Linked DNA regions of Homo sapiens: region 1 is linked to region 2. Evidence: promoter capture Hi-C in 16 types of primary human blood cells and fetal thymus (Javierre and others, 2016). All regions are on one chromosome and are shown on one strand. Each heading gives the region's core, a stretch centred on a gene start or on the middle of the fragment in contact. The rest is flanking DNA. Distances are from core to core; before and after follow the strand shown.

Region 1 (6,885 bases), core at 799-3,298, 1.1 Mb before region 2:
GCAAACCATGTAGCGCTGCAAATAATATGCATGATGTAAGAAATACTTAAAGAGTAACTGAATGTTCATTAATTAAGCATTCCTCTACTTGACTCTCCTTTTTATATCCCTGAATACCATAATAGAGATAATAATTTTATGTCTAAGGATGAGTATGGTAGCATGAAGCTATAATTTCCTATTATGAAATGTATTATTGTAGAGGAGAAAACACTGATAGAGCTGAAATAGAGGAATCCGATCATTTCAAAATTCCAAGGTTTATTTTTGTGGTGAAAACACAATTTTTATTTATTTGGCGAATGAGTTATAGAAGGAGTTCTGACTGTACAAAGTTTCATATGAACCACATTCTTCAAAGCTACTTAAAGCAGTTTACTTGCATGACTCATTTGACAAGGGAATGTAATGTCTCCTGATGATAAACACTGAATATGTTTGTTCCTAAAGTGTTTTTATAATGAAATAAACTAAGCATAGAAACTACATCAATTTACAAAAAAAATTCATAAACCTTTGTATAAAGATCAGTTACCAATTTAGGAGACATGAAATGCAGCATGCTTCAATCCAAGTTTCTTTCGTGTCCAGTGACATTATGTATAGGAAGAAACACAGAACAAAGGCCACATAGTGGTCTCAGGTGTTTCATCTTTTACTATTAAACTAAGTAACAGAAATTCCTGTTTGATTAAATAAATATGTAACAGCTAATTGCATGCACATATAAATACATGAAGTTCAAAGAAAAGCATGGAGGAATTCTGCTTTTTGTTCCAACTCAGAATGAATGAGAGCATTGACATGCGTTAAGTTCTCTTTCTAGCAAATTTATTATAGTTAGCTTTTTAATCTTCCTTTGATCATAAATGTGTAGAGTTATACAATGCTGACTTAATGAAGGTCTAACTACAGTATTTTAAGAAGCAAATAGGTCAATACCATCAAATACTTTTTCTTTCCCTTTTCCTATGAATTGACAGGCTATTTCTCTTGTAAATACAAATCCATTTTAGTAAATCTTAGATTTAAATATATTAAACAAATGAGCAGTTTTGATTATGGATGTCCTCTAGCAAAATCATAAAGTGGTTACAGTAGACCACTTCAGTCAGTTTTACCTTTGCAAATTTTATACAATCTCTCAGACAGTTTACCTCCTATTTGTTAGCCCATTGAATCTGTATCATTTTAACTTCTCAGCTAAAAGACTTTCCACCTTTGTCTTTTTATCAGCTTTTTCCACTTGAAACTATTCCATAAGCTTCTTGATAATAGTCAATTTCTACTCATTTGGTAAAACTTTTTTGAGTATTTACTATATCATAGTAAGTAAGCAAGTTTCCAGGAAAAATAAGATCTAGTTCTTACCCCCAAAAAGAAGAGCAAACATAATATAATATTCAAGGCATAATGAAATAGTTGCTTTAAAATGTCTAAGCTTACTGTGGAAGCTAAGTGTAAGAAAAAAGTTGTTACTAAAGAGAAAATGGGGGACTTCAAAAATATTAAAGAATGAATAGAATTTTGAGACCTAGAGAAGAAGGTTATTTTAAGAAAATAACATACACAAGTATTTGAAAATATGAACATTTAGAACTTACTTAAAAGGTTTAGTAAGATACTGTCTAGAAAATTAGGTTCTGGATTTAAACTTTAAAAGTTTTCTATTAGACATCCAGAATTTTGTACTACGCTGTATTAGTGGGGAGCCAATGCAGTTTTTTAAAGTGGAAAATAATATAATGCAACCTTTGTTAAAAGAGCCTAAAGATTTTAACTAGCATAATACAGGATAAGTTAACTTACTTTACTACAGAGAAATGTGTATAGCTACTATACATCTTCCGTTTTTGCTGGGCATTTAATTAGAACTAACGCTTTTGACGTGACAGTCAGCATGGCAATGAATAGTCAGATAATGGATTCCTTTTACAACAGTGCTTGTTCAAGTTGCTGCTTCTGTCTGGAATTCTCTTTCTTCACTTCTACCAGTGGTGAGATTTGCCCATACTTTAGGCATCCTCTCAGGTATCATCTCTGTAACAAAACCACCAATGTATCCTATTCATCTATCCTTCATCCTTCTTAGAGTCTGTGCTCTTCCTTATGTTCTTATATCATCTTATACTTAACTTTTATTGTGGTTTATTTATAGTATTTATATGGTATAGTTTGTATACTATATATATTATAGTTTATAATATTTAAAATGCATTACTATTAATCCTTATGTATCTGTCTCTCATGTTTGATTTTGAACTCCTTGAAGGCAAATAACTTGTCAGTTTATTTCAGTATTACTAGCATAATTTTCAATAAATCTTGAGTTATTTGTTAAATTAACATTAAACATCACTGCAGTATTACACAAATGAGCTTCTTACTAATTTGTGCTATTGTGATCTTTGCAATTTATTTTAAAAGCCCATGGCCATTAACCAAAAGCAGTCAAATGCTGACCTGGCTCTAGTAAATACCAATTTTCAGTGTTACCTGTGTATTTTTATCATGATTTCCAATAAAAATTTAAGTAACAAGCAGACTTTATAGTAAAACTAAAATAGTTGGGATATTAAATGATGTTGAAATCAGGAAATCATTCCATGAGCCATTTAGCAATGCAAGTACTATATCAACTGTACTAACATAACGAGAAGCTTTTACTTGCTTGTGCTTTGCAAAAATAGCCATATGACAGAGTTAGAAGACAGCTTGCTACTCAAAGTGTGGTCCCTGTCCAGCATTATTAGCATCTCCTGGGAGCTTGTTAGGAGGAAGAATCCCAGGTCCCACCTAGACCTACTTAGTCAGAATCAGCATTTTAACAAGATTTCCCAGCTGATTTATATGCACATTAAGGTGTGAGAAGCACTTTTTCCCTAATAACATTTTAATATGATTTCCAAATGTATATCTTCACTGGAGAAAATTTTGAAACTACAGGAAAAAACAAAAAGGTAAAAAAAAGTATACATAATTCTGCCAAAAGGTAATGACTGTTAATTTTTGTATATATACTCTATTTTGTGTATAGACACACAAATTTCTACCAGCTCCAATTTTTTTTTTTTAAACAGAGTCTTACCGTGTCACCCAGGCTGGAGTGCAGTGGTGGGATTTCGACTCGCTGCAGCCTCTGCCTCCCAGGCTCAAGCGATCCTCCCATCTCAGTTTCCCAAGTAGCTGGGACTATAGGCATGTGCCACCATACCCGGCTAATTTTTTGTATTTTTGGTAGAGGTGGAGTTTCACCATGTTGCCCAGGTCGATCTTGAACTCCTGAACTCAAGTGATCTGCCTGCCTTGGCCTCCCAAAGTGCTGGGAATACAGGCCTGAGCCACTGCACCCAGCCCAGCTCCAGAATTTGGATCTTTCAAAACATAATGTTTAGTTAACATTTTTCTTTATAAAGAGTTGTTCTACAATACTATTTTGTATTAAATCATAAGGATATACTATAATTTATTTAACCAATCATTGGCCATCTAGGCTGTTTTTAATGTTTTGCTATTAAAAAATGCCATGATAAACATCTTTATAACTAAATATTTGTACATATTTAGGATTATTTTTATATTTTATAGGATTAATTTGAAGAAGTTATGACCATTTTAAGGCTTTTGCATTAAATTAATTGAATCCCAGATAAACATGCATATCTTTTTGGAGTTAATTATTATAATAATTATTTTTTCATAGATTATAGCACTTGAGAATGTGTGAAAATAATTATATAGCTACTATCCTTAATGATATTTTTAAAAACAAATTTAAGGCCAGGTGTGGTGGCTCACGCCTGTAATCCCAGCACTTTGGGAGGCTGAGGTGGGCAGATCCCTTGCAGTCAGGAGTTCAACAACAGCCTGGCCAACATGGTGAAACCCTGTCTCTACTAAAAATGCAAAAATTAGCCAGGCTCCATCTACAGGTGTGGTGGCGCACACCTGTAATCCCAGCTACTTGGGAGGCTGAGGCAGGAGAATCACTAGACCCCAGGAAGCAGAGGCTGCAGTGAGGTGAGATTGCACCACTGCAGTCCAGCCTGGGTGACAGAGTGAGACTCTATCTCAAAATAAATTAAAATAAAATAAAATAAAGAAAACACATTTAACATTGTAAAATTTATTCTCAAAACAGTATATTGATATTTTTAAAAATTAAAAATATAATGGCCCATTATACTTCCTTCTGTTACAACTACCAGGGTCATGGTAAGAACATTATATGTTTGTCCCCTCCAAATCTCATGTTGGAATGTGATCCCCAGTGTTGGAGGTGGGGCCTAATGGGAGGCGTTTGGGTCATGGGGGAGGATCTCTCATGAATGGCTTGGTGTCCTCCCAATGGGTAATGAGCTGGTTCTTGCTTTATTAGTTCATGCAATAACTGGTTGTTTTTTTAAAACAAACATGGCACTTCCCCCTCTCTCTTGCTCCCTCTCTTTGCCTGTGACATGCCTGCTCCCTCTTTGCCTTCTGCCATCATTGAAAGCTTCCTGAGGCCCTCATCAGAAGCAGATGTTGGCAGTATGCTTCTTCTACAGTCTGCAGAACCATGAGCCAAAATAAATCTCTTTATAAATTATTCTGCCTTAGGTATTTCTTTATAGTAATGCCAAAATAGACCAGTCCATAACAAAAATCTGAATGTGAAAAATATGGATTTGAGAATTTAACTCCATTCTTAATAAGTTGACACTGGAAAGTTTATTTCTTCCTCCCTCCCCCTCAGCTTTATTAAGGTATACTTGACAAATAAAATTGCGTATATTTATAATGTACAACATGATGGTTCAATATAAGTATACATTGTGAAATGACTAAAACAAATGAATATCCACCTCACATAGTTACTTTTTCATGGCAAAAAATTTAAGATTGAATCTCTTAGCAATTTTCATGTAGTCATACCTCAGAGATACTGCAGGTCCAGTTCCAGACCACCACAATACAACTAAAGTCACAGTAAAGCAAGTCACACATTTTTTGGTTTCCCAGTGCATTTAAGTTATGTTTACTCTATAGTCTATTCAGTGTGCAATAACATTATATCTTTTTAAAAGTACATATCTTAATTTGAAATTATTTTATTGCTAAAAAAATACTAATGATCATCTCAGCTTTCAGCATTTCCCAATTTTTTTGCTGGTGGAGGGTCTTGCATTGATGTTTGCCTGCTGATTGATCAAGGTGATGGTCGCTGAAGGTTGGGATGGCAGTGGCAATTTCTTAAAATAAGACAACAAAGTGACACACTTGACTGACTCTTATTTTCATAAAAGATTTCTCTGTAGCATGTGATGTTTTTGGTAGCATTTTACCCACAGTAGAACTTCTTTTAAAATTGGAGTCAGTTCTCTCAAACCTTGTTACTGCTTTACCAACTAAGTTGATGTAATATTCTAAATTCTCAGGTGTCATTTCAATAATCTTCACAGCATCTTCACCAGAAATAGATTCCATCTCAAGAAACTACTTTCTTTGCTCATCTGCAAGAAGCAACTCCTCACTCGTTATAGTTTTATCAGGAGATTGCAGCAATAGAGTCACATCTCCAGGCTCCACTTTTAATTCTAATTATCTTGTAATTTTTTACCACATCTGCAGTGACTTTCTCCACTGAAATTTTAAACCGCTCAAACGCATCTATGAGAGTTGGAAACAACTTCTTCCAAACTCCTGTTGATGTTGATATTCTGACCTCCTCCCATAAATCACAATGTTCTTACGGCATCTGGAATGGTAACTCCTTTTCAGAAGGTTTTCAATTTACTTTGCCCAGATCCATCAGAGGAATCACTATCTGTGACACCTTTAGCCTTATAAAATATATTTCTTAAATAATAAGACCTGATCCATGCCTGCAGAATGGATGTTGTGTTATCAGGCATGAAAACAACGTTCATCTCCTTGTACATCGAGCTCTTGGGTGATCAGGTGCATTGTCAATTAGCACTAATATTTTAAAAGGAATCTTTTTCTGAGTGGTTCCCAATGGTGGGCTTAAAATAGTAAACAATGCTGCAAACAGATATGGTGTCATCTAGCCTTTCACATTCCATTTATAGAGTACAGGTAGAGTAGATTTAGCATAGTTTTTGAGGGCACTAAGAGTTTCTAAATGGTAAATGAATATTGGCTTCAATTTGAAGTCACCAGATGTATTAGCCCCTAGCGAGAGTCAGCCTGTCCTTTGAAGCTTTGAAGCCAGGCATTGCCTTCTCTCTAGCTAGGAAAGTTCTAGATGGCATCTTCTTCCAATAGAGCACTGTTAATTCTGCATTGAAAATCTGTTGTTTAGTCTAGCCACCTTCATCAATTATTTTAGCTAGATCTTCTGGATAACCTGGTGCAGCTTCTCCATTAGCACTTGCTGCTTCACCTTGTACTTTTATGTTATAGAAAGGGCTTCTTTCCTTTAAACCTCATGAACCAACCTCTGCTAGCTTCAGACTTCTGCAACTTCCTCACCACTCTTAGCCTTTATAGAATTGAAGAGTGTCAAGGCCTTGTTCTTAATTAGGCTTTGGCTTAAGGAAATGCTATGACTGGTTTGATCTTTCCAGACCACACAACTTTCTCTATATCAACAATAAGGCTGTTTTGCCTTCTTATCATTAGTGTGTTCACTGGAGCAGCACTTTTAGTTTCCTTCAGTAACTTTTTTCTTTTGCATTCTCAGCTTGGCTGTATGGTGCAAGAGGCCTAGCTTTTGGCCTGTCTCAGCTTTCAACATACCATCCTTACTAAGCTTAATCATTTCTAGCTTTTGATTTGAAGTGAGAGATGTGCAATTCTTCCTTTCGTCTGAACACTAAGAGGCCATTGTAAGGCTATTGATCGGCGTAATTTCAGTATTGCTGTGTCTTAGGGAATAGGAAG
Region 2 (7,051 bases), core at 3,071-5,570:
GCCTGGAATCCCTAGACTCAAGTGATCCCCATCTTAGCCTCTTGAGTAGCTAGGACTACAGGTGTGAGCCACCATGCCCGGCTAATTTTTAATTTTTTTTTTTTTTTTTTGTAGAGAAGGGATCTTTGCTACATTACCTAGGCTGGTCTTGAACTCCTGGCCTTAAGTGATCCTCCCACCTTATCCTCCTGAGTTGTTGGGATTATAGGTGTGGGCCACTGTGCCCAGCAAATTCTAATATTGAAATTTTGTTAATTTAGAAAAAAAATTAAAAACAATGTTCTGCCCTGTCTTAAAGGATAAAGTTCCTTTACGTGGCAGAAGAGTAGAAAAGTTAAGGGCATGGCTCTAAAGTTGGATCAACCTCAGTGCAAATCTTGAATCTAGTACTCACCCTTGTGAGAGCTGGGCCAAGTTACTTCACCACTCCAAGCTCCAGGTATGTTATTGATAAAATAAGGATTAAAAACTTAACTCACAGGACATCAAGGAGGACTAAATGGGAATACTATATATGAAGGCCACGCATAGTCTCTGTACACAGTAAGTACTCAATAATAACTAATTATGGAAGACAAGGTTCATTGATAATATGGCTCCTACCTACCTCTCCAGCTTAATCTATCACTACCTTTGTCCTGAAAATTTATGCTCTACCTAAAACTATCTGTCTCTCTACATTTCCTTACGTATTTTTTGTCTGCTTTTATCAGACCCTAAAGCCCCTATTCGTCCTTTAAGATTTAGGTCAGTGGTCATCTTCTTTGGAAAGGTTTACCTAACTCCCCAGAATGAGTTAGGCACCCCGTCCTCTGTCCTTGTAGCACCTTGTGTATACACTTCATCTTTCTATACACCAGGACTCCACTTCTTTCACCTCATTTCCCAATTCATTCCCAGACATTTCCATCCTGCCCCAGTATTCTTCTCGAAGTCACCAATGACCCCCTTATTGCCAAATATTTTCAGTCTTCATTTCATTTTTCAGCTGCATAAACACAGTTGACTACTCCCTCCCTGAAACAAGAAAATTGTTACATGAATACCACACTCTCCTGGTTTTCTTCCCATCCCTGTGGATACAACTTTTCAATCATTTTCTTGTTGTTGTTGTTACCCTACTTTCAAGCTAACAATTCACTTTTTAAAATTCTTCTCTTTAAAGGGTTTTACACCATTTTTCTCTTCTAGCTCACAGCTTTCTAGGTAAAATCATTCAATTCCACACTTACATTTCTAGCTCAGATCTCTCTTCTGATCTTTGACTTTGCAGATGTAATTGCTGATCTGACATTTCCATGTACTAATCTAATTACATCCTCTTCCTCAACTCCCATGTTCAATCCATCACCAGGTCATATCATTTCTATTTCAAAAACTGCATCTGGAATTCTGCTCCATTCATCTCCACTGCCTTCACCCTGATCCAAATCACCATCCTCATTCATCTCTATAGATTCCAAGAGCCTGCTCACTGGCTTCCCTGTTCTTATTCTTGTTCTCCTCAGTCCATGAAACAGGCAGAGGGATCTTTAAACTATACAATTCTTCAACAAGTCCCTACTATACTTGGGGGGAAAAAAACCCCAGATACTTTACTAAAAGGCTCTTCATGAAAATGGCTCTAGCCCACCTTCCTAACTTCACTTCAGATTACCCTCTGCCTTCCTCCGATTTCCCCAAGTCACCAGGGTCTTGCCTATTTTAGGTCCTTGACAAATTCTATTCTGCCCAGAATGCTCTTCCCTCAGTTCTGTCAAATCTTTCAGGAATCAGTTTAAATATAACCTCTCCTGACCATCCTATCTCAAGTCGATTTCCCCTATTATTGTCTTGGCACTGTTTGATTCCTTCATAGTAATTGCAATAATGAAAACAAAATTTATTTATTTGTTTTAAACTAACGTCTCTGTTTGAAGCAGGCAGCTACGAGGTATGTTTTAGCCAACACTGTATATCCTGCACTTACTAGGGCACCAAGTAGTTAATGTTTCAGTTGAATGCAAAACTCACTGCACTTATTTTGTGATTTAAAACAATCCCCCTCAAGAAATTGAGCTCTTTTCAAGTTAGGATTGTGTTTTCATTTTTAATTTTTGAACTGTTAGAACCAACCACAGTATCAGCCTCACAGTAGCATGTAATCCATATTTATTAAACTGTACTAAATCCAACTAACACAATGAGGCAAATAACTAGATAGGAGGAGGGGGAGACACTAAAGAAGTGGGAGGTCCCAAGACAAAGGGTGGTAGCACACCATTCATCAAGAAAGGCAATACAGCAGCAACAGTAAGCAACTTTGGGAAAAGGATAGTAAAAGTTCAATATTTGACAAGGTGAGCAATCTGTAGGATATAAAAGTAGATTTCCAGTAGACATTTGGAAATAAGGACCTAGAGTGGAGAGAAAAGTCCAAATATGTGGATAATTTTAAAACTCTCTAAGATCAGAAGACATTTTGAAAATATCATGAAAAAAACCTCTAAGAAAAAAGCATGCACATAGTTTCTTTCATAGACCTTTTGAAACCCATCCATGGTTTCCTCAAGGTTATTTATTTCTGATATAGGCGTAAAATGAAATCCTGAAGACAGATAACATCAATGAATTGACAGAGAAGAACAAAGACCTGGAAGCCACTCTTCACATCTGTACTTGTATACAGATCTTATTTCCTTCCACTTGTAATTTCTCAGTTCCTGTTTTATTAGCTGTAAAATGGGAATGGCAATTATCTTCTTTAGAGGTTGTTGCGAAGGTTAAGTGGGAACATTGTAAACTGTGTGACACAGCATCTGGAACATAGGAGGCCTAGCTCTTGGAAGTTCAAGGTTTTACTGGCACTCACCATGAATAAGACAACATTTATTCTACAGTAGTTATTTATGTTCCATTCTTATCTCAACTAGAATGTAAAGCAGGAAACTGATCTTCATTTTTTTGTATCCTTCCAGACCCAAGGCCAGTGCTTTCCATATAGCAAGTGCTCCATAAATCTCTGTTGAATGAGGAAACTAAGCACAACTCCCAGTCATATCCAGTTTCCTTCTGCTGGTGAGTCACACCAATTGTGAGTACAGTGTAATAAACCTTACAGGGAAGAGGAAGGGATTTGAAGTGGATGAACATTTAAAAAGTTGCCATCCTGTCCAGTTCATCAAAATGACTTTGTAAAAGTACTGCAGTGTTCAATAAGAACACGTTTCATGTTGAGTTTCTGTTTTTCATTTGACTTCAGATAAAGTATTTTAGTGATACTCATATAGGTCTCATCTGACAAAACAAGTAAACGCAAAGGAAAAAGAATGTCATATCTCAACAAAGCCATTCGTTACGAATAAATATGAAGGTTTATGTGGTTCTGCACCATCCGAGAAGAGCATAATTTAGCTACTGAATATTTTCGACGTTTACCTGTACATTAATTCTCAGCTACGTGTATTCACTCCCCCAACCCCAATTTAAATATGTGGGCGTCTGCTTACTAGGGGAATTCCAGGTTGTGCTTTCAGCTGTTGAGCTTCCTCAAGCCCCCTTATGCAAAAGAGCTTCACATTTTTGGTCCACTGCTTGGGATCCTTCACCTGGTACAGCCTTCGCTCTAGGCTGAGTGAGCAGCCTAGGCAGCCTGACTTAAGGATGAATCTGAGCCGCCAGTCCCTAACGAAGCATCTCCAAGAACCCAGTTGGGGGGAAAGCATGAGGAGATGGGTGAGGAGTGGGCAAGAATCAAAACACCACTTGGCAACAAAGCCCAAGCTCTGCGTTTAGCGATGTAAAACCTGGATTGACAGATCACTGGAGGATCACTGCCACCAAGGTCCCTCGGATGCAGGGCTCGCCACAGTCCTCCTGTGCTAGGACTTTCCGCTCCTCCGACCTGGAGGATCCTCCTTGTCCTCGGACTCCAGGCTTCCGCTTTCGTCTCCCGCTGGGCTGCAGCCCGCCCCCGCCCGCCCTGGGCACAGCTGCGTTACTCACGTCCTTCTTCACTTCAGTGAGGTCCTCCTCGGTGAGGGACGGTGCGGTGGGCTCCATGGTGGAGGCGGGAGATGGCGCTTCTTCCGGGTCCGGGAGCTCGGGCTGCGCCGCCCCGCCCTGGCTGGGGGCTTCGGCCTCCGGGTAATGGGGAAGAAGGAGAGGAGGCGGAGCGGGTCGGGAGAAAGACGGCCGCCCCTTCGGGAACAGAGGGACTCGGGGGTCAAACCGTAGCGCTTCCGGCCCCGCCTCTGAGGTCGACGGCGACGCGAATCTACGCGACGCGACGCGGAGCTCGGAGCAGCGTTCCTTCCCTCTCGTAGAGGCTCAGGCGCAGGCACCGCCCCACGGCGAGGCGCGTCGCTTAGCAGAGCCCGCCCTGTCTCTGCGGCAGCCTATCGACGCCAGCCCGCGGGCCGATCCTGTTCCCGCCCCCGACCGGAGCCTTTCGGGTGGCTCCGCCCACAGCGGGCGTTTCCTCAAGCCACGCCTGCGCAGGTCGTCGGTAAGTGGCCCGGGTTAGCTTCCTCATAAGGCATCGTTTCCGTGGGTGGGGTCCGTCAGTGCCCAGGCAGCTGGCACTCTCAGCCTTTGCTGCCTGCTCACTTCGGGGGAGTCCGGTCTGGGCTTGTCAGTACCTTGGGTTCCTCCCCTTTTCCCAGACCCTGCCCTACAATTTCCTGTTGTTACGTTTGCCAGTTACTGTTTTGGTCACACACAAACGCACTCATACACACATACACATGCATACACACAAACAGCCTAACTACAATACTAAACAAATTTTTGAAAGAAAAAAAGAAACCACCTACAATCCCACCACTTTAACACCTCATTTAACGTTTGCATACTTTTTGGTCACTGTTCATTATAAACATAGCTTTTCCTCATTAGTTAATCTGTGTAATGGAGATAGATATGCTTACCTTTTAGGGCTGCCGGGATCATATGTAAAGTTCTTAAAGGTAGTTGGGCACACAGTATGCACTCAACTGATTATTTATTTATTTATTGAGACAGGATCTCACTCTGTCGCCCAGGCTGGAGTGCAGTGGTGCGATTCTCGGCTCACTGCAGCTTCCACCTCCAGGGCTCAGGCGATCCTTCCACCTCAGCCACCAAGCAGCTGGGAGTCCAGCTAGTTTTTTTGTATTTTTTATAGAGATGGAGTTTCGCCATGTTGCCCAGGCTGGTCTCAAACTCCTGGGCTCAAGCCATCCACCCGCCTCGGCTTCCCAAAGTGCAGGGACTACAGGCATGAGCCACCCAGCTCATCCTACTCAAACATTTATTGAGTCCTTACTAATATGTTCTAGGCAACTTATACTATGAGTCCTCCATTTTATAGGGGGAGACTGATGAAGAGACGACTATCCCCAGACCGTATTTTAACTACTATGGCGCTGTGTAAGAAGCAACCTGAGAAGTGTGGATGAAAAGCTACAGGTAGAGCCCTGGGCCCAAGACGGTGGCTTGGACAACATGCTAAATAAACTATAAACTAGATGGTATTTGAAGCTACGAGAGTAGATAAAAATGACAGGAGGACCAAGGAGAAACTTGGGAACGCCAATGTTTAAGAAACGGGAAAGCAAAAAAAAAAAAAAACACACACAAAAAAACAATGTAACCAGAGCCACAAAAACCAGAATCACAGCAAGGGATTCTGATGTTTACATTATGTCCTGTTTCCATGTTGACACATTACACAAGGACAGTTTTTTTCTAATTGCTTAATTTTTCATCATCTTCCATCCGATTTACTGAACCATCCTTAACTTTAGGATGAATCCTTTCATTTAACAAATGTGTTTTGAATGTCCACTATGTGCCAGACACTGTTCTAGGTGCTAGGAAAACAGCTGTGAACAAAACCAATAAAAATCTCTTTCCTCATGGAATTTATATTCTAGTTTATTTGTGTTTGGGGCAGACGAGGTAGGCACTTGAAAAATTTTATCTAAGTTTATTTATTTATTTATTTGGAGACAGAATCTCGCTCTGTCACGCAGGCTGGAGTGCAGTGGCACGATCTCTGCTCACTGCAACCTCCTCCTCCCAGGTTCAAGTGATTCTCCTGCCTCAGCCTCCCCAGTAGCTGGGATTACAGGCGCATGCCACCACACCCGGCTATATCTAAGTTATTTTAAAAAAATAATTAATTAATTTATTTTTTTGAGACGGAGTCTCACTCTGTTTCCCAGGCTGGAGTGCAATGGCACCATCTCAGCTTACTGCAACTTCTGCCTCCCGGGTTCGAGCGATTCTCCTGCTTCAGCCTCCTGAGTAGCTGGGACTACAGGCACACACCACCACGCCCAGCTAATTTTTGTACTTTTAGTAGAGACAAGGTTTCACCACATTGGCCAGGTTGGTTTCGAACTCCTGACCTCAGGTGATCTGCCCACCTCAACCTCCCAAAGTGCTGGGATTACAGGCATGATCCCCCACGCCTGGCTATATCTAAGTTATTTAATTTATTAGAAGATGATAAATACTAAGAGGAAAAAATAAAACAGGGAAGTAGGATGAGGCTGTATGGATTGGTAAAATTTAAGCTAGGGTGGTCATGACCTCCCTGCTCACTTTGGAGGAGTCTGTCCTTGTCTTGTCAATACCAAGATAAGGGATTTGATTTATGCTTAAAGGAAGTGAGGGAGTGAACCGTGTGGATATAAGGAGAGAGCATTATGAGTACAGTCAGCAACCAATAAAAATGCTCAGTGTAACTGGAAGGAGATGATCTCCTTGTGTGTTGAGTCATATGGGTGTGCTGAGTCAGACGGGAAGCCACTGGAAGGTTCTGAGCAGAGTGACATGATCTGATTTGTGATTTGAAAAGAAGCACTTTCACTTCTGTGCTAAGGGGAAAGAAGATGGAAGAGGGAAAACCATTTAGGGAGGTATTGCTATATCCAGGCCCCAGGAGGTTGTGGTTCAGACCAGGGTGGAGCAGTGAGGGTGGTGGGAGCATTTTGAAATGAAGCAAGGAAGCAGTTTGATTTCATTTTGAAAGGATCACTCTGGCTGCTAAGTGGAGAGTAGATGGCAGGGGCAAGGGCAAGAAGCA

What was found. Contacts are between HindIII fragments. The CHiCAGO score rates a contact against its expected background, and 5 or more counts as called.
Region 1: a contact is called between a fragment that was not itself captured here and the fragment with the promoter of BCL10 in region 2, in 1 of 17 cell types (activated CD4 T cells). The highest score is 6.2, in activated CD4 T cells.

What each region holds. Positions count from the first base shown.
Region 1 is chr1:84,146,205-84,153,089 of GRCh38, forward strand. All of the region lies in intron 1 of PRKACB (protein kinase cAMP-activated catalytic subunit beta), which reads left to right. Among named protein-coding and RNA genes, the nearest start is that of PRKACB, 5.4 kb to the left of the region's middle. The HindIII fragment of the contact is 1,219 bases long and covers 1,440-2,658 here.
Region 2 is chr1:85,272,312-85,279,362 of GRCh38, forward strand. It overlaps BCL10 (BCL10 immune signaling adaptor), which reads right to left and starts at 4,321. Exons shown (of 3, transcript NM_003921.5): 1 at 3,985-4,321. The coding sequence starts at 4,041. BCL10-AS1 (BCL10 antisense RNA 1) reads left to right here and starts at 4,047. Exons shown (of 2, transcript NR_045484.1): 1 at 4,047-4,486; 2 at 5,330-5,777. RefSeq lists enhancers at 3,514-4,713, 3,919-4,621, 7,030-7,051. The HindIII fragment of the contact is 19,185 bases long and covers 1-7,051 here.